7 separate regions of the Homo sapiens genome follow, and regions 1, 2, 3, 5, 6 and 7 are each linked to region 4. Evidence: promoter capture Hi-C in 16 types of primary human blood cells and fetal thymus (Javierre and others, 2016). All regions are on one chromosome and are shown on one strand. Each heading gives the region's core, a stretch centred on a gene start or on the middle of the fragment in contact. The rest is flanking DNA. Distances are from core to core; before and after follow the strand shown.

Evidence for each region. The method cuts DNA at HindIII sites, captures the fragments that hold promoters and counts their contacts. A CHiCAGO score of 5 or more calls a contact.
Region 1: a contact is called between a fragment that was not itself captured here and the fragment with the promoter of PUS7 in region 4, in 6 of 17 cell types (total CD8 T cells, total CD4 T cells, neutrophils and 3 more). The highest score is 8.7, in total CD8 T cells.
Region 2: a contact is called between a fragment that was not itself captured here and the fragment with the promoter of PUS7 in region 4, in 7 of 17 cell types (total B cells, naive CD8 T cells, naive B cells and 4 more). The highest score is 8.8, in total B cells.
Region 3: a contact is called between a fragment that was not itself captured here and the fragment with the promoter of PUS7 in region 4, in 1 of 17 cell types (total CD4 T cells). The highest score is 5.0, in total CD4 T cells.
Region 5: a fragment that was not itself captured here is called in contact with the fragment with the promoter of PUS7 in region 4 in 1 of 17 cell types (naive B cells); the score reaches 5.1 in naive B cells.
Region 6: a fragment that was not itself captured here is called in contact with the fragment with the promoter of PUS7 in region 4 in 5 of 17 cell types (neutrophils, total B cells, fetal thymus and 2 more); the score reaches 6.7 in neutrophils.
Region 7: a fragment that was not itself captured here is called in contact with the fragment with the promoter of PUS7 in region 4 in 2 of 17 cell types (total CD8 T cells and naive CD4 T cells); the score reaches 7.2 in total CD8 T cells.

The regions. Positions count from the first base shown.
Region 1 is chr7:105,098,653-105,101,932 of GRCh38, forward strand. It overlaps KMT2E (lysine methyltransferase 2E (inactive)), which reads left to right. Exons shown (of 27, transcript NM_182931.3): 16 at 2,773-2,937; 17 at 3,234-3,280. Among named protein-coding and RNA genes, the nearest start is that of KMT2E, 86 kb to the left of the region's middle. The HindIII fragment of the contact is 1,649 bases long and covers 562-2,210 here.
Region 2 is chr7:105,119,821-105,122,899 of GRCh38, forward strand. The region is part of intron 15 of SRPK2 (SRSF protein kinase 2); the gene reads right to left. Among named protein-coding and RNA genes, the nearest start is that of KMT2E, 110 kb to the left of the region's middle. The HindIII fragment of the contact is 3,192 bases long and covers 1-2,922 here.
Region 3 is chr7:106,031,340-106,034,779 of GRCh38, forward strand. CDHR3 (cadherin related family member 3) reads left to right here. Exons shown (of 19, transcript NM_152750.5): 19 at 1,054-3,440. The coding sequence ends at 1,358. Among named protein-coding and RNA genes, the nearest start is that of CDHR3, 70 kb to the left of the region's middle. RefSeq lists an enhancer at 1-97. The HindIII fragment of the contact is 2,174 bases long and covers 738-2,911 here.
Region 4 is chr7:105,520,903-105,524,330 of GRCh38, forward strand. It overlaps PUS7 (pseudouridine synthase 7), which reads right to left and starts at 1,369. Exons shown (of 16, transcript NM_019042.5): 1 at 1,150-1,369. RefSeq lists enhancers at 196-850, 2,134-2,634 and silencers at 393-538, 748-1,497. The HindIII fragment of the contact is 10,027 bases long and covers 1-3,428 here.
Region 5 is chr7:105,080,554-105,083,598 of GRCh38, forward strand. KMT2E (lysine methyltransferase 2E (inactive)) reads left to right here. Exons shown (of 27, transcript NM_182931.3): 13 at 1,135-1,244. Among named protein-coding and RNA genes, the nearest start is that of KMT2E, 68 kb to the left of the region's middle. The HindIII fragment of the contact is 3,696 bases long and covers 1-3,045 here.
Region 6 is chr7:105,018,698-105,022,124 of GRCh38, forward strand. All of the region lies in intron 1 of KMT2E (lysine methyltransferase 2E (inactive)), which reads left to right. Among named protein-coding and RNA genes, the nearest start is that of KMT2E, 6.2 kb to the left of the region's middle. The HindIII fragment of the contact is 1,322 bases long and covers 743-2,064 here.
Region 7 is chr7:105,050,767-105,053,716 of GRCh38, forward strand. The region is part of intron 3 of KMT2E (lysine methyltransferase 2E (inactive)); the gene reads left to right. Among named protein-coding and RNA genes, the nearest start is that of KMT2E, 38 kb to the left of the region's middle. The HindIII fragment of the contact is 337 bases long and covers 1,319-1,655 here.

The DNA of each region.
Region 1 (3,280 bases), core at 136-2,635, 420 kb before region 4:
GGCCTCCCAAAGTGCTGGGATTACAGGCATAATAAACCACTGCGCCCAGCCTAAATTTTTTTGTGGAGATGGGAGTCTTGCTTTGTGATGGGGATATTATTAAGCAGACTGCTTATAGGAAATTACAATGCTTGGTATTTACTCTTGGAAAACCATAAACTAAGACATATGTCATAAAAACAATGTATAGATTTCATGGGAAATCTATCGAGTTTAGATTATATAGCACAGGTGTTAGGGGCTATGGAAAGTCTGCAGGGGTTAATTAGGAATCCTAATTTCTCTATCTCCAGAGTCAGCTCTAACTACCTCAAAGAATAAAACTTATTTTTCAGTTAGAGCTATAAAATGGGAGGCAAATTTTGTCTTTAAATAGGTACCATATACATGGCTGTGTCAAAGAATGTACTGTATGTAATGGTGACTAGAAAAGCTGAATGATGTATGACCTTTAAGAAATTAAAAATAAATGTAGAAAATCAGGCACGTTTATGTTCCAAAATATTTGTGTATTTTAAGATAAAGCTAGGTCTAAAGCTGTTAGGAAATGTTTAGTGCTTAAGCTTTATTCTTACCCAGCTGTAGTAATGTAGGAAGAGTTTTGCTTTATGTAGCGGCAGTAATTGGAAAGAAGAGTAATACAGAAACCAGGAAACCTGCATAACCTGCATAGTAATTATGGCTCTGCTTTTGAATGAGTCACTTAATACACATGGGCTTTGGTTTCTTCAGCAGTATTGGACCACATTATTTTTTAAGATCCTGATCAACTCTAGAAGATTATGAACCATCTCTAAATACAGGATTTTGCTCTGACTATAAATTAGCTGTAGTGTTTACAGGGGAGTTTGATTTTTTAATTGAATGTTTATATCATATAGTTTTATCTCTGACCAAAACAAGAAAATATTTCTTGTATCCCAAACAAGAAAATATTGGACTATGTCAGACTCTGTTGGCATAAATTCATATTTACCTTACAACACCCAGGATAATCATACTACAAAAAATATCTTCCTTGGGTGCCCACCTGTGGGTAGTTTTTTATTTTACACATACAATGATTTTTGCCAAGACAAGTTTGTTTCTTCTGGAAAAATGTACTTTCCCCAAATTTTTTATTTTAAATTTTTTGAAAAGAAATAACCATAGTAATTAATCCCTCCTCTCCAACCAGGTTCATCAGGTAAAGCGCAGTTTGGGAAAATGATCTTTTTAGTTACTCCAAATTTCTCCTCTTCTACATTCAGGGTTTTAGAGAAGCCCTGATAAAAACAGTTTTACAGAGAACCACAAGACAAAAAGGGGTAAAGGTAATTTAAAAGCCCAAAAATAAGGAATTTTGTAAGGAAAGAACTCAGCTGTAAAACTTTCAGTGCCAGTGAACAAGTAGAACCATCTTTTGCATGTGCTATTGTAGTGTTTGCCCGTCCCAGACTAGGAGAAGTGAGATACAGATACGTAATCCATGAACAAAGAACCTTACCTCTTTGGACCTCAGTTTCCTCAGAGTCATGTTTGCAATATGGAAATTTGCTGTAACAAATTAGAAACTTAGAAGTATTATTAGAGTACTTTTGTTGACATAGTATTTTGTTCCCTTGCTGAGTGTAACAACAACAACAAAAATACAGGAACAGGTAAACAGTAGTTTCCAAAGTGTAGGTATCTTGAGGCTTGAATCTCTGCTGGTAATTACTGGAACTAAAGCTCCAATATTGAGAAGACTGTGGCATCCAGACCTTGAGTTTCTGATCTTTCTTCCTCACATCGATGTGTAATAAAGGAGGAAAGACAAATGGATCTGAGCCTCAGGACCTGTGGTTCTTTTCATTTTAAGAACTGGACAGTTGATGGATGTGGTTCCTGGTTCTGGTTTAGAGCTGAAGCATCTGTCAAGGCTCTGGGTCTTACTCTTAATGTTCTCTTTGGATAGAGAACTGATGCTCAAAGGAACACTTGGCTGTTTCTCAGTCCCTGTCTTGAATTGTCAGTGAAGACAGGAAGAGCAGAAGGTAGAGGAATACTTTATAAGAATTACAATGGAGGGCAAGAGGACTAAAGTAGAAATAATAATTAACATACAGAACGCCCACCATTTTCCAACTACTGTTTGAAAACCTCGTATTTTCTGTTGGAACCAAATAACAACTCAGAGAAGTTCATCATAAATGAACTTCTTGCCAGACTTGAAAAGAGAGAAGAGAACAAGCTTTGGAAAGGATTTTATTACCCACATCTTACTGTCTCAGAAAGGTTAACTTGCCTGGAGTCACAGAGATACTTACCAAATGAGAATCATAATTTTTAAATGCAAGACTTTACCTCACAACATCCTGCTGCAGTATGCCAATAATATACTCACTCAAGTGCATATGAATTTTACCTTTTCAACATATCATTACCTTAGGGATTTTGGATCTTTTTTTAAAAGGCTGATTTCTGTATTATTAAGAGAAAAGATTTTCGGTTTGGTAAAACAAGGTAATTTTTGAGGCTTTTTTGTTTTGTTTTACCCTTATCATTAACACTCAGTCATCCAAGTGTTTCCTTCATGAAATATTTGCAATAACAGGGCTTACCAAGATGATGGGAATTCTGAAAGGTCTTCAATGAACAGAAATGTTTTTTCTCCCCATATCCACCAATAATAGAAGTAGTTTGCTGATAGTATCATAGCAATTATTTTTTACATTTATCACAAACATTTGGACTTAATTTTACTTTTGAGCATTGATATTTATGATGTCACTTAAAATTTAAATTTCATAGACAAGAGAAGAAAGAAAAATGGAAGCAATTTTGCAAGCTTTTGCCAGACTTGAAAAGAGAGAGAAAAGAAGAGAACAAGCTTTGGAAAGGATCAGCACAGCCAAAACTGAAGTTAAAACTGAATGTAAAGATACACAGATTGTCAGTGATGCTGAAGTTATTCAGGTATTATTTATTCAGGTCGTTTTATTTTCTTAAACACTTTAAAATAAAATGTCTATACTTGCATTAATTACTTATAAGGAATTTAAAATAATGTCTATTAGCTTTTTAATAGCATTTTTCAGATCCTATGGGAGTTTCAGCTTGAGATAAAAGACTATATATTATCTCTGTTCTTTATTATATATCAGAATTCAAAAATTCCAGAAAGTTGGCTTCTGAAGTAGAATAATGCTATTATATTTAAACTTTATATATATGTAGTATAAAAACTTCCATTCGCTTGTATTTTGAATTAGGAACAAGCAAAAGAAGAAAATGCTAGCAAGCCAACCCCTGCCAAAGT
Region 2 (3,079 bases), core at 77-2,576, 400 kb before region 4:
CAAAATTATATGTACTCGCAAAATTACGAAGAGCCAGTAATAGTAAAATGGTGGTTAAAAGAAAACCAAGGTAGATTCACTTAATAGTATTTAATATTACTTAACAACATGGGAGAAGATCATGGTACAACATTAGGCAGTAAAAGAACAGTCAAACTATGTCCTACAGATAATCACAAGATTATTAAAATGCTCATTAAGATGGAAATCAACTGAATCAAAACATCAGCTTTTGTTAGTAGGTTATTTCAATTTCCACATTTTCTGTAATATGACTATATTGATTTAGACTGTTGATCTCACCACAGCAACAGTTAAAGCAAACTAAGAAAGCTCACATGTGACTAAACCAAGTTCTCTGGGAAAGGGAGCGAACTTTTATGACATGAATCTATTCTATCTCAGAAAAAATACTCTCCAGGTTTGCAAATATAGGTAACTACAGAGAAGCACTGTGTGCTGAGAATAGTAAAGGAACCTATTTCTGAGGCGCCAGGTGTTAAACTAAGATCCATCAACAAGGCATCTTTTAAGTACAATCTTCCATGAAAAGAGAAGTTTTACCACTATAAATGCTTAACAGCTGCATAGTAACAGTGAGCAAAACAATATAATAGTGAAAGGCCATGAGAAACTATTCATCCATAACTAGGCATACTATAAACTGGTAAAAATATTCGCAAGGAGCAGTAAAATATCTAACTACTTTTAACAAGGTAAAGACTGTGCAAAGAAGCAGTCTATAAACAACAGTATATGCAGGAGAGTCCTAAACACCTATGGTCCTGAGCACAGAGCAGCACTGCAATATAACAAAACACTGAACCGCCTCTAAAAAAAAAAAAAATGTGTGGACTTTTTTTGTGGAAAAAGTTTATAATATAATGCAAAGGAAAATCAACTCACCCAGATGCTATAATGATTATGTGTGCAAACCCTTAAGCTCAGTATAAGAAGTAACCTTGCCCTGGAAATAGTTGATAAGGTTACTTAAACACAAAGCCCAAGCCCCCAACTCTGTATCTATTGCTAGGAGACACAACAAGAGTGGGCTCACTGAATGAGTGAGGGTCTCGAGTCCATGAGCCAGCTCCAGCCCTGCAGATGATGCCCAAGAAATGTAGCCACCTCCATCACTTAGAATGATAATTAAGAATAAGAGGGGAAAGCATATTTTAAAAACACATTTTCACCATTTGCTCTTACTATAAAAGTAGCACCCTAACAAGTTAAAGAAATGTCATCGGCCGGGCACGGTGGCTCATGACTGTAATTCCAGCACTCTGGGAGGCCAAGGCAGGAAGATCACCTGAGGTCAGGAGTTCGAGACCAACCTGGCCAACATGGTGAAACCCGATCTCTAATAAATACAAAATTGGCCAGGCGTGGTGGTGCACACCTGTAATCCCAGCTACTTGGGAGGCTGAGGCACAAAAATCGTTTGAACCCAGGAGGCAGAGGTTGCAATGAGCCAAGATAGCATCACTACACTCCAGCCTAGGCAACAGAGTGAGACTCTGTCTCAAAAAAAGGAAAAAAGAAAATATATGAAGACGTAAAAAAAAAAAGAGAGAAAAGAAAATATATGAAGATGTGTTTCACTGAAACAAGTTTTGCAAATAACTAGACAACTGTGACAATTTTAGTTTCTTAAAGTTCCATTTCTAGCCTGTCCTCCTTAAAGAATGTGGAATATCACTTCACCCTTCCTGTGACTATCAGCTGTCAATCTCAGTATCAACTCACACACACACAAGCAAACATGAGCCTGGCAGCCAATTGTGTGGTCCCCAAGAGCCCCTTAGGCTTCTGAATTTGCTCTGAGAAACAGCTTGAAAGAGCCAAGGAAAACCAACAGGAAGCAGGCTCTGAGGAAGGGTTCCTCCTGCAGAGTAAAGGCTTTGTGACAGCAACTGTACTGGCCAGTCCTGGACTTGCAGAGTCCTTCTAAGGAAACAGGGAAGTTCTATTATACTTCTCTTGAATCTTAAAGTGGTTTGTGAAGGAAAATACATTATTTTATCCATGAAATTGTCATATTCCAGAATTAAATAAAGAAGCCCATGAGGTTCCACACTACATGTGGGAGGACTCTAAAGGCAAATCCTGGACTATATTTACATGAACACTGGTAATTACAAAGCAAACCATGATATAAAACTGATGAGCATCAATTGTGTACACGTAGAAAGTAAACCTACCAAGAAATACCAATACAAAGCAAGAGACAATGAAGAGATCTGAATGAATTCTTACACAAGTAGACAACCAAATGTAGGTAAATATTGGAGTTTAAAATGTGTATAAACCCTACCTCACATCCCATACAAAAATCAACTCAAAATAGGTCATATGCCTCAGAGCTAAAACTAAACAATTCCTAGAAAAGTAAATCTTCATGACCTTGAAGTAGGCAATGATTTATTAGATGTGACATCAAAAGCACAAATTGTAAAATGTATATAAATTGGACTTCATCAAAATTTAAAAATTTATACTTAAACTTTCACATGTGTATTCAAGAGAAACGGAAACATCTGCCCACACAAACTTGTACATTAATGATCATAGTAGCATCATTCATAATAGCCAAAAAGTGGGGGAAAACCAAACGCCCATCATCTGATGGAGGGATAAACAAGAGGAGTGGCAGTGACAACGCCCAGCCTGTGTAGCTGTCAAATGCCCACGAAAGAGCTTTCTTTGCTCTTTACAGCATCAAAAGAATCTGTTGCTTTTTAGGTATTCAGGAGATAATTTTAAAACACTGTGACAAGTTCAGCTCAGACACTAAATATTAAAAATACAGAATACAGTATCTCTTTTTAAAACTCAGCTCCTGGGTTTTAGCCCTCAGTTCTCACATTTCTCTTGATGTTGTCCCTGACTCAGGGAAACGTGGATTTTATGCTGCTGCACAGAAGCTTCTTGCTTTTGAAATTTTCAATTGTATTTAAGGTCTGTAGTCTGACACACACACATACACACACGCGCGCGCACACATGCACACAATCACTCTCTTTTATCCCAACACACTCGATGCTGTCATCTAGAGACCAGTTTTTTTTTTTTAAGTAAA
Region 3 (3,440 bases), core at 575-3,074, 510 kb after region 4:
CATAAGGTAGAGCTGGCCTCCAGAGCTCTCATCACCCCCGTGAAATCAGCTCCAAATTTAGCTCCTTTACACTCATCCCTCTGCTTACAAAGGCTCAATTATAGACGTGAATAAAGGGAAGGAAACCAAATTCAGGAGGCAAGTGTGTTGGCTTCCTGCCACCCTCATATGCAAACGGCACCGGTCCTCCTCCTAAGGAGGATGGCTCCTCTCCAGTGAGAGGCTGCCGCCGCCGCTGCTGCTGCTGCTGGAATTAAATTTCCCTCTATTATTAGGTGCTTGTTACCATAATGTGCCCACATTAGCATAAGTGCTGGTGGGATCCTGAGCTGAGAGGCCACTCATGCTGTATGGAAAAGACAAGGAGCAAGGGCTTGCCTTAAACCTGATCTTCCAGAGCAAAAGGCTCTTCCAGAGCAAAAGGGGGGATTTTTGTGTTTTTGTGTAGTTGAGAGAAAAAAAAAAAAAGAAAGACATGAGCCAACTGGCCTAAGTCAATTAGTGTCTGCTGGCTCGGACACAATAAAAATGGCTTCCTTGTATCATCTCAAGCGGGACCAGATTTTTGTATCTGTGTCTACAAATTGCTGCTAACCTAACATAAATAAAAATCAGCCTTTTCCTTCTCACTTGGTGAATTCCTTTTTATAGCAGGAATTCAGGGGTCTTTTAAAACAAACAAAATGAATCAGAAAGTAACGGGTAATCCCATTAGAGATTGAACCTAATTTATCCAAAGCTTGCATGGAGTTCAAGAGTTACATGGCCTTCTCATCCTGCAATTGAGATGTCCTTGAGACGCTCCTAAGCCTTTCTATCCAGAGAGGTTTGCTGTTTGCTACCTGTGTGGTCCGAGCAGCACGGCTTGTGGCAAGGGCAGGCTGGTGGAGATTGTGGGGCTATTCACACACCTACTGTCTGTGTCAGTGATTCACACCTTCTAGTGTGCTTCATCTTCCCTTGGGAGTCAGAACAGAGCAGGGTAGAAGTGGGGGAAGAGACAGTCATTGGAATTTTCTGGCTTATGTGATTGTTGTATTTTTTTTTCACTAGTGACCGGGGAAACATATGAATTCAACTCAAAAACTGGAGCCAGAAAGTGGAAAGATCCACTAACCCAAATGCCAAAATGGAAAGAGTCCAGCCACCAGGGAGCTGCCCCACGCAGAGTCACTGCTGGGGAAGGGATGGGGTCACTGAGAAGTGCCAACTGGGAAGAAGATGAGCTGAGTGGCAAAGCGTGGGCTGAGGATGCTGGTCTGGGTTCCAGAAATGAGGGTGGCAAGCTGGGCAACCCAAAGAACAGAAATCCAGCCTTCATGAACAGGGCTTACCCCAAACCACACCCAGGAAAGTAAACGGGGTCTAAGGAGGGGCCTGTCAATCACTGAGATGCTGCCTCACCCTAAATTCTATGGGGATGGTGTGGGCATGGTGTAGGGGGGAAAATGTGGGCTGAGGGGATTCAGACATCCAGGGTCAAACATGGGATGTTTGACAAATTTTTAAACAAATAGAAAGGGGTTTGATCACATAGTTGCGTGTTCTGAAATGATACAGGAACATTTTCTATCAGATTTCAGAACTACCTGTGCTTCTGATAAGCAAGACTGTTAACTTTGGGGTGTGGAATTGTTGTGTTTCTTCTTTGCATTGACTGCTAGGAAGCTCTATTCTGTTCACCATAGAAAGTTTGTAGGAATTCCTGACATAAATAGTGAAGACTATCCTTACATCTGGTTTCCACCTTATTTTCCTGCCCTCGTTTTAACATCACCCAGATTTCTTCAGTTATAAATATGCCATACACCTTTGTAAGTCACCTCAAATCTTCTTCAAAAGAAGCAGAACAGTGAAAAAAACAGATGAGTAAGTTAAGAGTTGGTCATCTGGAAAGAAGAAAACTCAGTAGGCACCTTCTTTTGTTTTTTCTTGTGGTGTCCGGATCAGCATCCTGCATGTGAGATTCATCCACGTTGTCCTGTCTAGCAGTAGTTCAGTTCTCTTCATGGTTATGTCTGGTTTCATTCTATGATTATATCACAATTTATCTATTCTACACTTGGGTGGCAGCTGCTTCAGATTTTTTACTTTTAAAAAATATACTTAAAAGTGAACTACAGGCAGGGCATGATGGCTCATGCCTGTAATGCCAGCACTTTGCCAAGGTGGGCAGATCACCTAAGGTCAGGAGTTCAAGATCAGCCTGGCCTAGATGGCAAAACCCTGTCTCTACTAAAAAATACAAAAATTAGCTTGGTGTGGTGGTGGGCACATGTAATCCCAGCTACTTGGGAGGCTGAGGTAGGGAGAACTGCTTAAACCTGAGAGGTGGAGGTTACAGTGAGTTGAGATTGTGCCACTGCACTCTAGCCTGGGTGACAAAGCAAGACTCCATCTCAGAAAAAAAAAATAAAAGTGAATTACAACACTATGAACTTTCTTGTACATGTCTTTTGGTGAACATAAACACTCACTTTTTTGCTCATATATCTAAGAGTGGGATTGCTGGAGCAATTGCTGGATCTGCCAAAGAGTTCCAAAGTGGTGGCTCTGATTCACATTCCAGCAGCAAACACTGAGAGTTGCAATTGCTCTCTATCCTTGCCAACACTTGGGATTGTCAATCCTTTTAACTTTAGCCATTCTGGTTAAAATTACTATTGAAGTGAAATCACTTTTTCCTCAAAGCTGAAACACCATCAGCCTTACAACCTACCTGCCTTGCTCCTTCCCACTTCCTATGATTGGAAGGAACTGCAGGACTCTGAGTGGGGACATACTGGAAGCCCCATCTAGACATAAAACTCAGACTTCCACCTGTAGGCATGAGCAATGAACTGGGAATAAATGGTATTATGATGGAATAGGAAATGTAACTTTCCAATGTGTGCCTAGCAGAGCCTGAGCAAGCTTCACTCGAGCTCTATGCCCTGCTGCCCAGCTGCTGCGACCCTAGTCCAGTAACCCTAAGAAAGGTCCAGGTGAGTGTTCATTAGGGAAGCACTCCCTTCCCAACTGGGGAGTCAGGTGAGAGCCTACCAGGTCCACAAGGTCCTGTGGGAGACAGACTGGATCCAGCAAATGTAGAGCTTCAGAGAGAGCAGCAGCTTGTTTACTGTGTGCCTAGTGCCAGTGTCACTTCTCAAGCAAAAGAAGCATTTGCAAAATGCCTGTCCTGGCCTAGATTGAGCGTGATTTATTAATAAGGGTTGGTTGCCAGGGAACTCCCTTGAATGGATTTAAACTTTGCAAAAGAAGGCAGAACTGTTCATTTATGCAGGTTAAAGTGAGTGAAGTGGCTGATTGCCCATTTAAGGCATTGCAAATCTGTGGGGCCCGGAGTCAAATGCTTTCCTTGGAAGCTCTCAGCTTCAATGCAAGTAAAATGAGGTTCTGAGAAGGCTGAAGGGGGACTTAATAACTGCTTATAAGCCCAT
Region 4 (3,428 bases), core at 119-2,618:
GAGGCTGAGGTGAGAGGATTGCTTGAGCCCAGGAGTTCAAGGCTGCAGTGAGCGATGATCACGCAACTGCACTCCAGCCTGGGCAACAAGAGCAAAATTCTGTCTCAAAAAAATTAAAAAAATAAAAATAAAAAAACCAAAAACATGTTCACAAGGAGTTGTTAAGTACGTACTGTTGGCTACTTTCCTAATGTTTGAACCTAACAATTGCCTAACCAACCCCTTTTCAATAGTGTTGTACAGTCTGATTTTCGACAGATCCCTCAATAGTCGAGGCTCCCCCAGGCCAATGGGGCATAGTCATTTCATAGATGATTAGAGGCTTGGGGATGGGGGGGAGGGAACCTTAGTAACCCTTTATTTTTGGAATGGAAAAAAAAAGTAGTCTGACGGGACCAAATATTTTAAAAACTAAACTCTTTGCCAACCCTACTCGGCAGGCAACGAAGGTGTGCTTCTAAACACCTCTGCGCAGGGCTGACGAGGAGGACTCGAATTTCAGCTTGCACAGCAGCACCTCCATCCACTCGTTAAGCATTCACCCAGCTTGAGGGCTGGAGAAAGCACTCTGAGTCTGCAGCCCGTCCACTCCTACTCTGGGAAATGCATACAAAGCAAGCAGTCCCCAGAGCCCGCGTGGCGCCTAGTAGGCTCCCAGTGAGCGGCGACGCAGGACACAGGGGTGGAACACGTGGGCTGGACCCACAGAAGGCAGGCGCGGCGAAGCAGTGGCACCGTGAAGGGCTTCAGGGCCAGTGTTCCTCTGACGGAGGGACAAGAGTTTAGGGAGCGTCCGGGGCAAAGAAAGGGAGGAGTGGGAAGGGGGCCCCCGGGGGACAGCGCCGCGCGGGGAGGAGGGGAGCGCTCGGGCGCGGCGCCTCCGGACGACTGGCCGGGCAGAGCGGAGCGGGGAGCGGGGAGCGGAGAGCGGCGCCTGCACCGCCGAAGCGCAGGACCCACTGGGTTCCAACCGTGCTCCCGCTGGCACGATCCATAATGGAGGCGCCGCGGGCTCTGACCACTGCGGGGCCGCCTTCCCAGTCCGCCTTCCCAGTCCGCACTGCCTCTTGGGGCGGGGCCCTGGGGCTGGGGCTGGGGCCAGGGCCAGGCCGAGGAGCCCCGGCGGCCGCGGGGAGGCCGCGCACTTACCCGGAGCCTGGGAGCGCGGGCGCGGCGTGAGCTGGGCGGCGAGGTGGCCAGCGCTCTGGTTGGGACGCAAGAGAGCGGCGAAGGCCACTTGGATGAGCCAGCGGCTAGGGCGGCCAGGCAAAAGCAGCGCTTTCCGCGCGGAGGACCAGATGCGCTCCAGCCGACTCACCGGCGGCCGGGCTCGCACACGTGCGGCGCAGCGACGCGCCGCGGCCCGACTGGACCCGCCCCGGGGGCGGAGTCCGCTCCCTGCCGCCGGCCCCGCCCCCGGCCCACCCACTCGGAGCGGCCTGCAAGCCAGGGAGCGCCCCAACGCGGACTCCCAGCCTACGCGCGTTCACCCTGGACCTTCCTCGCGACCGCGCCTGAGTCGCACCAGCGGCAGAGAGCGATTTCACCAAGCATCTAAGAGTTCTTTAGATCTTTAGGAAGTCTAAGGCAGCGATTGCCTCCTTTGGTGTTATATTCTAAGTGTTTCCTTCACATAGTTGTGGCCCTTTCACGTTGCACCGACCACGCAGTTGACAATAATGGAAAGAGAATCACTTTAGGGACTAAATATTGTTCTACATTTGATCCTGGGAATGTAGTGGATCTAAAAGCACCATCTTCCTACTTCTTACCGCTCTGGCTTGATGGCTTGCCATAGGATCTGCTTCAAGAAACCGGATCATAGGTTTTTTTTGTTTTGGTTTGGTTTGGTTTTGACAGAGTCTCGCTCTGTCGCACAGGCTGGAGTGCGGTGGCGTGAACACAGTTCACTGCAGCCTCGACCTCCCAGGCTCAAGCAATCCTCCCACTTCAGTATCCCAAGTAGCTGGGACTACAGGTGCATCCCACCGCACCCAGGCTAATTTTTTTGGGGGTGGGGGGTAGAGACAAGATTTCACTATGTTGCCCAGGCTCTAATAGTTTTTTTGCTTTTTGTTTGTTTGTTTGTTTTTTGAGACGGAGTCTTGCTCTGTCGCCCAGGCTGGAGTGCAATGGCGCGATCGCTGCTCACCGCAACCTCCGCCACCCGGGTTCAAGCGATTCTCCTGCCTCAGCCTCCCGAGTAGCTGGGATTACTGGCGCACGCCACCATGCCCGGCTTATTTTTTGTATTTTTAGTAGAGTACGGGGTTTCACTATGTTGGCCAGGCTGGTCTCGAACTCTTGACTTCGTGATCCGCCCGCCTCCGCCTCTGTGTTGAGATTACAGGCGTGAGCCACCGCTCCCAGCCTCTAATAGTTTTTCCGTTTTGTTTTATTTTGTTTGAGAGAGAGTCTCACTCTGTTGCAGGGTTCAAGCGATTCTCCTGCATCAGCCTCCCGAGTAGCTGGGCCTACGAGTGCTTGACATCATGCCAGACTAATTTTTTTGACGGGGTTTTTGCCTGTTGGCCTTGAACTCCTGACCTCAAGTGATTTGCCTGCCTAGGCCTCCCAAAGTACTGGGATTATAGGCATGAGCCACCATGCCCTGCCCAATTTGTTTTTTTGTTTTGTTTTTTACACAATGAAATATACTATTACCGGCCGGGCGCAGTGGCTCACGCCTGTAATCCCAGCACTTTGGGAGGCCGAGGTGGGCGGATCATGAGGTCAGGAGTTTGAGACCAGCCTGGCCAACATGGTGAAACCCCGTCTCTACTAAAAATACAAAAAATTACCCAGACGTGGTGGCACGCGCCTGTAATCCCAGCTACTTGGGAGGCTGAGGCAGGAGAATCGCTTGAACTCAGGAGGCGGAGGTTGCAGTGAGCTGAGATCGCACCATTGCACTCTAGCTTGGGCAACAAGATGGAAACTCTGTCTCAAAAAAAAAAAAAGAAATATATTATTACCATACAATTCAGCAATTACACTCCTTGATATTTACCTAAAGGAGTTGAAAACTATGTTCACACAAAAACCTGCACAAGTATGTTTATAGCTGCATTATTCATAATTGCCAAAACTTAAGGACGGGCCGGGTATGGTAGCTCACGCCTGTAATTCCAGCACTTTGGGAGCCCGAGGTGGGCAGATCACGATGTCAGGAGTTCAAGACCAGCCTGGCCAAGATGGTGAAACCCCCATCTCTACTAAAAATACAAAAATTAGCCAGGCGTGATGGTGGGCGCCTGTAATCCCAGCTACTCAGGAGGCGGAGGCAGAAAATTGCTTGAACCCAGGAGGCAGAGGTTGTGGTGAGCCAAGATCATGCCACTGCACCCCAACCTGGGGGACAGAGTGAGACTCCGTCTCAAAAAAAAAAAGACCAAGATGTCCTTCAGTAGCTGAATAAACTGTGCTGT
Region 5 (3,045 bases), core at 383-2,882, 440 kb before region 4:
CCAGACTTAAATTTATTTCTTCTCTGTGACTTACTAGCTTTTTAACCTCAGTTTTATCTGTAAAAAGGTGATATGAAGACTGAAGGAGTTAATACATATAAAGTATATAGAATAGTGTCTTGTCATAGAAAAGTAGCGTTTGCTCAACCATTATTGCACTCATCAAACCTAAGAAGGCCAGGCACAGTGGCTCACACCTGTAATCCCAGCACTTTGGGAGGCCAAAGTGGGTGGATCACCTGAGGTCAGGAGTTCAAGACCAGCCTGACCAACATGGTGAAACCCCATCCCTACTAAAAATTAGCCAGGTGTGGTGGCACGCACCTGTAGTCCCAGCTACTTGGGAGGCTGAGACAGGAGAATCACTTGAATCTGAGAGGTTGGGGTTGCAGTGAGCCAAGATTGCATCATTGCACTCCAGCCTGGATGGCAGAGTGAGACTCTGTCTCAAAACAACAACAGCAACAACAAAAAACCCTAAGATGCCACCAGTTATAAGACTCCTGATTTCAGAGATGCTAAAAGGTGAAAAAAAAGAATTGATGAGGCTGGGTGCGGTGGCTCACGCCTGTAATCCCAGCACTTGGGGAGGCCGAGGCCGGCACATCATGAGGTCAGGAGATTGAGACCATCCTGGCTAACACTGTGAAAACTCGTCTCTACTAAAAATACAAAAAAAAATAAGCCGGGCATGGTGGCAGGTGCCTGTAGTTCCAGCTACTCGGGAGGCTGAGGCAGGAGAATGGCGTGAACCTGGGAGGCGGAGCTTGCAGTGAGCCGAGATCGCACCACTGCACTCCAGCCTGGGCGAAAGTGTGAGACTCGTCTCAAAAAAATAAAAATAAGAAGAATTGATGAAATATAGTATTTTTATTATTATTATTATTATTATTATTATTTTGATGCCACATTGTGGGCTCTAGGGGTTGGGGTGGCAGTGGATAGCAGTATATGATTGAAAAACCTTCCCAGTTGATAACCACCAATAGATAGTTATAAGCCTTGTCATTAATGACATATTTTCCAGGTTGTGTTTGTGAAATAATTTGAAAAGAATAATTTTCAAAATTGTAAGCTGATGCTTCTGAAGGCAGAAAGTAATTTATGGTAATGTACAATTATTTTAACTTTTAGGTGAGGCATGAAATTCAAGATGGAACCATACATCTTTATATTTATTCTATACACAGTATTCCAAAGGGAACTGAAATTACTATTGCCTTTGATTTTGACTATGGAAATTGGTGAGTTCAAGTCTATAAATGTAATCTGTTGTTTGAAAATAGTTCCATAATGTCCCTGTAATAATTTAGGTATTGTCATTACTTTTATAGCTTTTTATTTTTATCTATCATGAATCAGTTAAAAGTACTTGAAAACCAGAAGTTTAGTATCAGCCTCTATTACAGCATTGCTACTTTTCATTTCTACATTTTCCTTAATTATTATTGTAATGTAAATGTTCACAGTAATTATAACAAGTAACCCTAATTCAGCCATACAACACTGACCTTGTTTATGTGAGAATTTTTTTCTTCTTCTAGGGGATATAATTTTAGTCATACAGTTTATTTGGTTAATCAGTATGAATGAATAATTTGTCTTTTGCCCCTCAAAACAAAAGAAAATTTTCTTTGCAGTATAAATTAAAAGGGTTTGTTGGAGATCCTACAAAGAAACTCTAAGAACTATTTTTCTGAAATACTAGTAAAAAACTAATGATAAATCTCAGTACAGTTGGCCCTTGCACAATGCGGGGTTGGAGCACCAACTGCCTGCACAGTCCACAATCTGCGTATACATTTTGACTCCCCAGAAACTTTACTAATAGCCTACGGTTGACTGGAAGTGTTACCAATGACAATTAACACATATTCTGTATGTCTTATACTGTATTCTTACAATAAAGTAAGCTGGAGAAAAGAAAATGTTTTTAAGAAAATCATAAGGAAGATACAATATATTTACTGTTCATTAAGTGGAAGTGGATTATCGTAAAGGTCTTCATCCTCATCTTCATGTTGAGTAGGCTGAGGAGGAAGGGTGGGGGTTGCTCTTGCTGTCTCAGGGGTGACAGAGGGAGAAGGGGTAGTAGAAGGGGAGGCAGGAGAGGGAAGCACATATGGTGTAACTTTATGAAAACATATTAGTAATTTCTGCCTGGCTTTTTTGCTTTCTCATTTCTCTAAAAATGTTTCTATATGGTGCCAGTCTTCCGTCATTTGCTTTAGCTTCAGTGCCCATATCATAGAAGAGTCCATATCATAAAAAAGTAAAAAATCAGTCTTGAAAACAATGGAGCCCTTCTGCCAGATTGTCTAATGTAAATTTGTTTTTTGGCACTGCTTTTTCTACATCTTCTTTCTCATCATCTGGCACTGGTTTGGAAGCAATCATCTCCATTAGGCATCTTCTGTTAATTTCTCTGGTGTGGTGTCTATTAGCTCTTGAATTTCTCTGAGATCCATATCTGTATTCTTCCTTCATCCCCACCTTTTTTTGTTATATCCATGATCTCTTTCATGATTTTTCTGATTGGCTCTGATGTAAATCCTGTGAAGTCATGCACAACATCTGGACACAGTTCACTCCAGCAGGAATTTATTGTTTTGGGCATGATGGCTTTCACAGCTTTTTCTATAATGATGGCATCTTCGATGGTATAATCCTTCCAGACTTTCATGATCTTCTCTTTCAGGGTTCTGTTCCATAGTGTTGACATTCTTTTCCATAGAGTACTGTGTGTAATGAGCCTTAAAGGCCATTATCACTCCTTGATTTAGAGGCTGAATTAGAGACACTTTGATGCCCTCAGTGTTGAACTCATAGGGTTCTGGGTGGCCAGGGGCATTGCCCAGTATCAAAAGACATTTAAAAGGCAATCCCTTCCTAGCTACCTGTTGTCTGACTTGAGGGACAAAGCATCAATGGTACCAATCCAGAAAAAGGGTTCTCCTCCAGGTTTTCTTGTTATACAACCAAAAGACTGGCAGCTTCCGTTTGTTTTCCCTTCAAGGCTTGGGTTTAGCAGCTTTATAGATAAGG
Region 6 (3,427 bases), core at 154-2,653, 500 kb before region 4:
TACTGGCTTTTAGGCTGGGTTTAAAATTGAAGTGGCTCGTATTTACTACCTGTTCTGTAATGTGCAGATGTTGGGAGGAGCCTTATTTTTTTCTTGACATTGAAAGAATAATTTTTTGTATTACCTACAAATTTACTTAACATGGAGGAACAGTATTTGTTGTTGAAATTGTTTTCTACACTAAACTGGAAGTGGATGGTATTTAACTAAAAATCTTGCAATTGCTATTAAACAATGAGTATTTTGCATTATATAAAATAAACAGTATTTTACTTTGTATAATATAAAATGAGTATTTTACTTTATATAAAATACTCTGTTTAATAGCAATTGCAATATTTTTAATAGCAATTGCAAGAGATAAGAATTAACCATATTATGATGCAAACAAATTGTTTTTTTGTTATTGTGAACTTCCATGCTAAGTGCTACATTAAAAATCAAATGAAGGTGACCCAGAGTAAGTTAATTAGATTTTAATTCATATCTTTAAGGATAAAAGAAGTTTTTATTAACCATTGGTAACTAGGATGCTTTTTACTTAAATCAGAGTCAGGAAAAGCAGTTGGTCTTATATTTCACGAGATAACATGTTTTCACTTGATATGAAATCAGTTCTTTTTTTCCCTCATGAACAGCTCATAATTGGATTTTATTTTTGGACAGAAAAACTTTTTTTATTGTTAGGTGAATTTTACAGTTTTATTGGAAATCTCGTTTGGTTATTTACCAAAACTATTTAAGCTTTTTGGGATGTTGGACATTTTCAATGCAACAGGTCAACAAAGAATTCTTTTTTGATGTGTTGCATTAAGATGCCATCAAAACAGACACTACGTCTTTTAATGAGTAAATAATTAACCTATAATATGTGTAAACTACTTGTTCATCATTTTTAATTAAAATATTTTGTATTTCAAAACTGTTTCAAATATGAAATCTGGGTTTAGAAAGGATCTGCATGCAGGTCAACGTGATAAGCAATGATCTATGTAGCTTTATTTTTACGACAATTGGACAGAGGTAATTTCTTAGCACCTCTTAGGCTGCTTAATTTAGAGTTAATCCAAAGGAAGAAACATTCCTTCAGAAGACTAGGACATATCAGATATTAATTATTAAAAATAGGCTGGGCACGGTGGCTCATACCTGTAATTTCACTACTTTGGGAGGCCGAGGCAGGCGGATCATTTGAGGTCAGGAGTTTGAGACCAGTCTGGCCAACATGGTGAAACCCCATTTCTACTAAAAATTACAAAAATTAGCCGGGCGTGGTGGCAGGTGCCTGCAATCCTACCTACTCAGGAGGGCGAGGCAGGAGAATTGCTTGAACCCAGGAGGCGGAGGTTGCAGTGAGCCGAGATTGTGCCACTGTACTTCAGCCTGGGCGATAGAGTGAGACTCTGTCTCAAAAAAAAAAAAAAAGTAAATAAGTAAATTAAAAAAAAAAATTCTTGGTCCTGAATTTTAATATTGAGAAAGATGATATTGTGTAATCACACCTGTGTAATAGCCAACTTGGTTGCAGCATTTAAGGTCATGCCTGTCTAGCATACGATAGTGGATTGAGTTAGTTTTGGTTTGTGGTACTTACAACTTTAAAGTTCACTTGGCCTGGCATGGTGGCTCACGCTTGTAATCCCAGCACTTTGGGAGGCTGAGGCAGGTGGATCACCTGAGCTCAGGAGTTCAAGACCAGCCTGGCCAACATGGTGAAACCCCATCTCTGCTACAAAAATTAGCTGGGCTTGGTGGCGGGTGCCTGTAATCCCAGCTACTTGGGAGGCTGAGGCAGGAGAATTGCTTGGACCTGGGAGGCGGAGGTTGCAGTGAGCTGAGATCGTGCCAGTGCACTTCAGCCTGGGCAACGAGCGAAACTGCATCTCTAAAAAAATAAATAAAGTTTATGTAATTATGCTGTCTCATGTTTTATCTGAGACCAAAAATGTTTAAATTTTTTCATTTATGTTGACTTTTGTTTTCATAGGGTATTTAAAATAATTTCCATTTAAAGTCTTAAAAATTTACACTTATAAATTATTTTAAACTTATTTGAGTTAAATAAGCTTAAAGATTAAATATCTTTTCCTTACCGTTTGGCCTAAGATGAAGCCTAGTGTCAGTGGTTTTTAGTAAAAAGTGAGGAATATGGTGAAAAGAAAAGAATTAACCATTACCACTTAGGATATTGTCAGGGAAACATAGTTTGGGTCTTTCAGAGAATGTGTATGAGAAACATACACTCTTCTAATATTTTTGTTTTCTTATTTCAGAGACTAATATATGTAATCGTTTCTATTTTTGAGTTTACAGAGAGATATCTCCAGTTCCTCTTACCATCTTGCTTTATGTAACATTTAAAGAAAGACAGCGTTCAGGAATTTGAAAACCCCATTTCCTCTTTAATGAAGTGGCTGAGATGGGAAGATTCATGATGTGACTAATTTGAATGGTTAGGACTGTGGTCCAGTAGCCATAAATAGGGGTCTCAGGTTGGTCTGATACATAGTAACTCTTACCCAGAAAATAAGTCTCTGCTTCTTCTCTTTAAATGAAGTTGCTTAATTGGTTGCCTTGACACAGGCTTATTACATCTTACATCATTAAGCCTTCGCTGTAACAATATTTTTGAAGCACAGACAAAAGATGAATTTGAGTAGCTATTATTTTCCTGGCACCACAGATGCAGAGAGAGATGAGACTGTCCCTGCTTTGAGAGAACCCGTAGTTTATTTCACCTTCTTAAAAGCCTGCTGTTTTAGAGTTTTTTGGATGCAAGGAACAGAAATCAGCTCTAGCTAGCTTAAATAAAGGATTTGTTATAAGGCTATAGGGAAATCTCACATAATTTATTTGAAGAAAGTACAGATGGGCCTCACAGGAATTGGCAAGGTGTCAAAGAGCCACTATTCACCATCTTGATCCCCTCTAATTATCTGAGACTAGTTAGAGAGATGGTGGTGGGGTGGGTGTTCATGGTTTGTAGAGTGGCGTTTCTCAGAGTAAAGCAAGAGAAAGACACGTTTAATTCTCCTGAAAACAATTACCTTTTTCCAGGAATGTTCAAAGGTACTTGGGAGGGCTTCCAAAACTAAATAATTGATATATCACACTGATGATTCAATTTTTAATTAAAAAATTGCCACACACACATGATGAGGAATGCTAAAAAACCAAGATATTTTTGGTTTTAACTTAAAAATAATGTAAAATTTACTGAAAATTTACTTGAATAGTACAAATAACTCTCTTATACTGTGTACCAAGATCACCGGACTTGTGACATTTTGCTGTTTGCTTTATTATTCTCTTTATATATACACCTGGTATTTTTCCTGAACCATTTGAGAGTGGGTTTCATTGCCAGTAGTACTAGCCCCCTTACAGCCCTTATTACTGAAGTATGCATTTCCTAAGAACACGCATG
Region 7 (2,950 bases), core at 237-2,736, 470 kb before region 4:
TCACCCAGGCTGGAGTGCAATGGCATGATCTCAGCTCACTGCAATCTCCACCTTCAGGATTCAAGTGAGCCTTGTGCCTCAGCCTCCTGAGTAGCTGAGATTACAGGTGGCCACCAAGCCTGGCTAATTTTTTTATTTTTATTCGAGATGGGATTTCACCATGTTGGCCAGGCTGGTCTCAAACTCCTGGCCTCAAGTGGTCCACCTGCCTCGGCCTCCCAAAGTGCTGGATTTACAGGCATGAGTCACAGCACCAGGCCTCATCTATTTCTTTCTTTCCTTCTTTCTTTCCTTTTCTTTCTTTCTTTCTTCTTCTTTCTTTCTTTTTTCTCTCTCTCTCTCTTTCTTCCTTTCCTCCTTTCCTCTCTTCCTCCCTCCCTTCCTTCCTCCCTTTCTTCCTTCCTTCCTTCCTTTTTTCCTTCCTTCCTTCCTTTTTTAGATGGAGTTTCGCTCTTGTTGCCCAGGCTGGAGTGCAATGGCACGATCTTGGCTCACTGCAACCTCCGCTTTCGAGGTTCAAGCGATTCTCCTGCCTCAGCTTCCCAAGTAGCTGGGATTACAGGCATGCGCCATCATGCCCAGCTAATTTTGTATGTTTACTAGAGGCGGGGTTTCTCCATGTTGGTCAGGCTGGTCTCAAACTCCCGACCTCAGGTGATACGCCCGCCTCGGCCTACCAAAGTACTGGGATTACAGGTGTGAGCCACTGCCCCTGCATCATCTATTTCTTTAAATGGCTACATCTCTATCCAGTTGCTTAAAACTCTAAGCTGTCAGTCTTGATTGGTCCTTTCCCCTTAACCCCTATGTCTAATTTATTGGTCTGTACTGGGTCCTCCTTCAAAGTATATTTTTGTTTTGTTTTGTTTTGAAATGGAGTCTTGCTCTGTCACCCAGGCTGGAGTGCAGTGGCACAATATTGGTTCACTGCAACCTCTGCCTCCTGGGTTCAAGCAGTTCTCCTGCCTCAGCCTCCAGAGTAGATGGGACTACAGGTGCGCGCCACCACGCCCAGCTAATTTTTATATTTTTAACAGGATTTCATCGTGTTGGCCAGGCTGGTCTCGAACTCCTGACTTCACAAAGTGCTGGGATTATAGGCATGAACCGCCGCGCCTGGCCAAAAGTATATTTTGAATCAGTACACTTTTATCCATTTCTACTGTTGTCCTCATCCAGGCCCTTGTAATCTCTTGACTAGACACTGGAGTGGAATACTCTCCATGTTTCTCTTTTGCCTTCTATCATTTATTTTCTGTAGAAGCTACTATGCTTCTTCTGAAGCATAAACCAGATCATACAATTCTCCCACTTAAAAAGCTTCCAGTGACTTTCTGTTTTACTTAAAATATTAACTTTTTATGACCATAAGGCCCTCCTTCCCTAATCTCGTCTCACTATTCTCTTATCTCACTATTACTTCCATATTGATTTTTTGTTGTTGTTCTTTTGAATATTTTACATTTGTTTCTGCCTTAGGGACTTTGTACTCGTGATTTCCTCTGCCTGGATCATTCTTATGTTCTTGGCATAATCTTAGCTAAACTCAAATATCACATACTAGTGAGGCCTCCCCTCTTCCATTATCTAAAATAGTATCTGAAATACTTGTTTTATTTCATTGCTGCCGTGCTTTATATTTTTACTAAAACATAAGCTTTATGACTATAAACATCTTGTCTGTTTTATCACTAATATCATTGTATCTACAATGGCTAGCACAGGGTTTGGCATATAGTAAGCATTGAGTCATGAATCATATTGCTTGAAGGTCATTTTTTATTTTTATTTATTTTTTATTTTTATTTCTGAGAAGGAGTCTCACTCTGTCGCCCAGGCTAGAGTGCAGTGGCGCAGTTTTGGCTCACTGCAACTTCTGCATCCTGGGTTCAAGCGATTCTCCTGCCTCAGCCTCCCAAGTAAATGGGATTACAGCTATGCACCACCACACCCAGCTAATTTTTTTTTTTATTTTTTTATTTTTTTTATTTTTAGTAGAGATGGGGTTTCACTATGTTCGCCAGACTGGTCTCGAACACCCGACCTCAGGTGATCTGCCCACCTTGGCTTCCCAAAGTGCTGAGATTACAGGCATGAGCCACTGCACCCAGCCTGTATTGCTTGAAGATCTAATAGTTAACCCTGAAGTTTATTATATTAAGAAGGATTATTGAATGCCCATATCCTAACTATACTTCAGTTGTTAAGAAGAGATAGAACTACAGCTAAACGTATTTTATAGCCTCTTCATTGTAGAAAGATGTACAAAAATACAGCACCTGACGGTGCTGTATAATTGAATGAAAAGTCCCTCATATATAAATAGTCTTTAAAAATTGGCATGATTTCAGTATATTGAATGCTAAGTTTTTTTAAGTCGCGGTTTTGGTTAATACCTGTTTTGGGAAGCTGGAAATTTTTTTAAAGGCATTAGGAAACTGGCAGAATTAAAATAGTGATGAGAGGGAGATTGAAATTTATTATTAATATCTATGTTATCTAAGTGATTGTTTACTGACCATGATATAATAAATTGAGACATAACGTAGGAAGAGAAGGGATGTAAAATTATTCAGTATAAAGAATTTTAACAAGTACTGGTATTTTTTGAGTGATAGTATTTTTACTATGAAATTTTTTGCATACTGTTTAATTGATGAAGGATTAAAGATCTAGTTTGCAGATCATATAGTTATAAGAATTTACGGACTTAAAATATATAATAATTTTATTCTCTCAACTCTAAAGTCTATATAAAGATTGCTTTTCAGAATTTATAGTAATGTGCTATAGATCAAAGATAGGCACTTGAAGCTGATTCTTGCTGGGCACACAGTGGCTCATGCCTGTAATCCCATCACTTTGAGAGATCAAGGTGAGGGGATCTCTTGAGCCCAGGATTTTTGAAACTAGCCTGGGCAACATAGTGAGACCCCTGCTGTCTACAAAA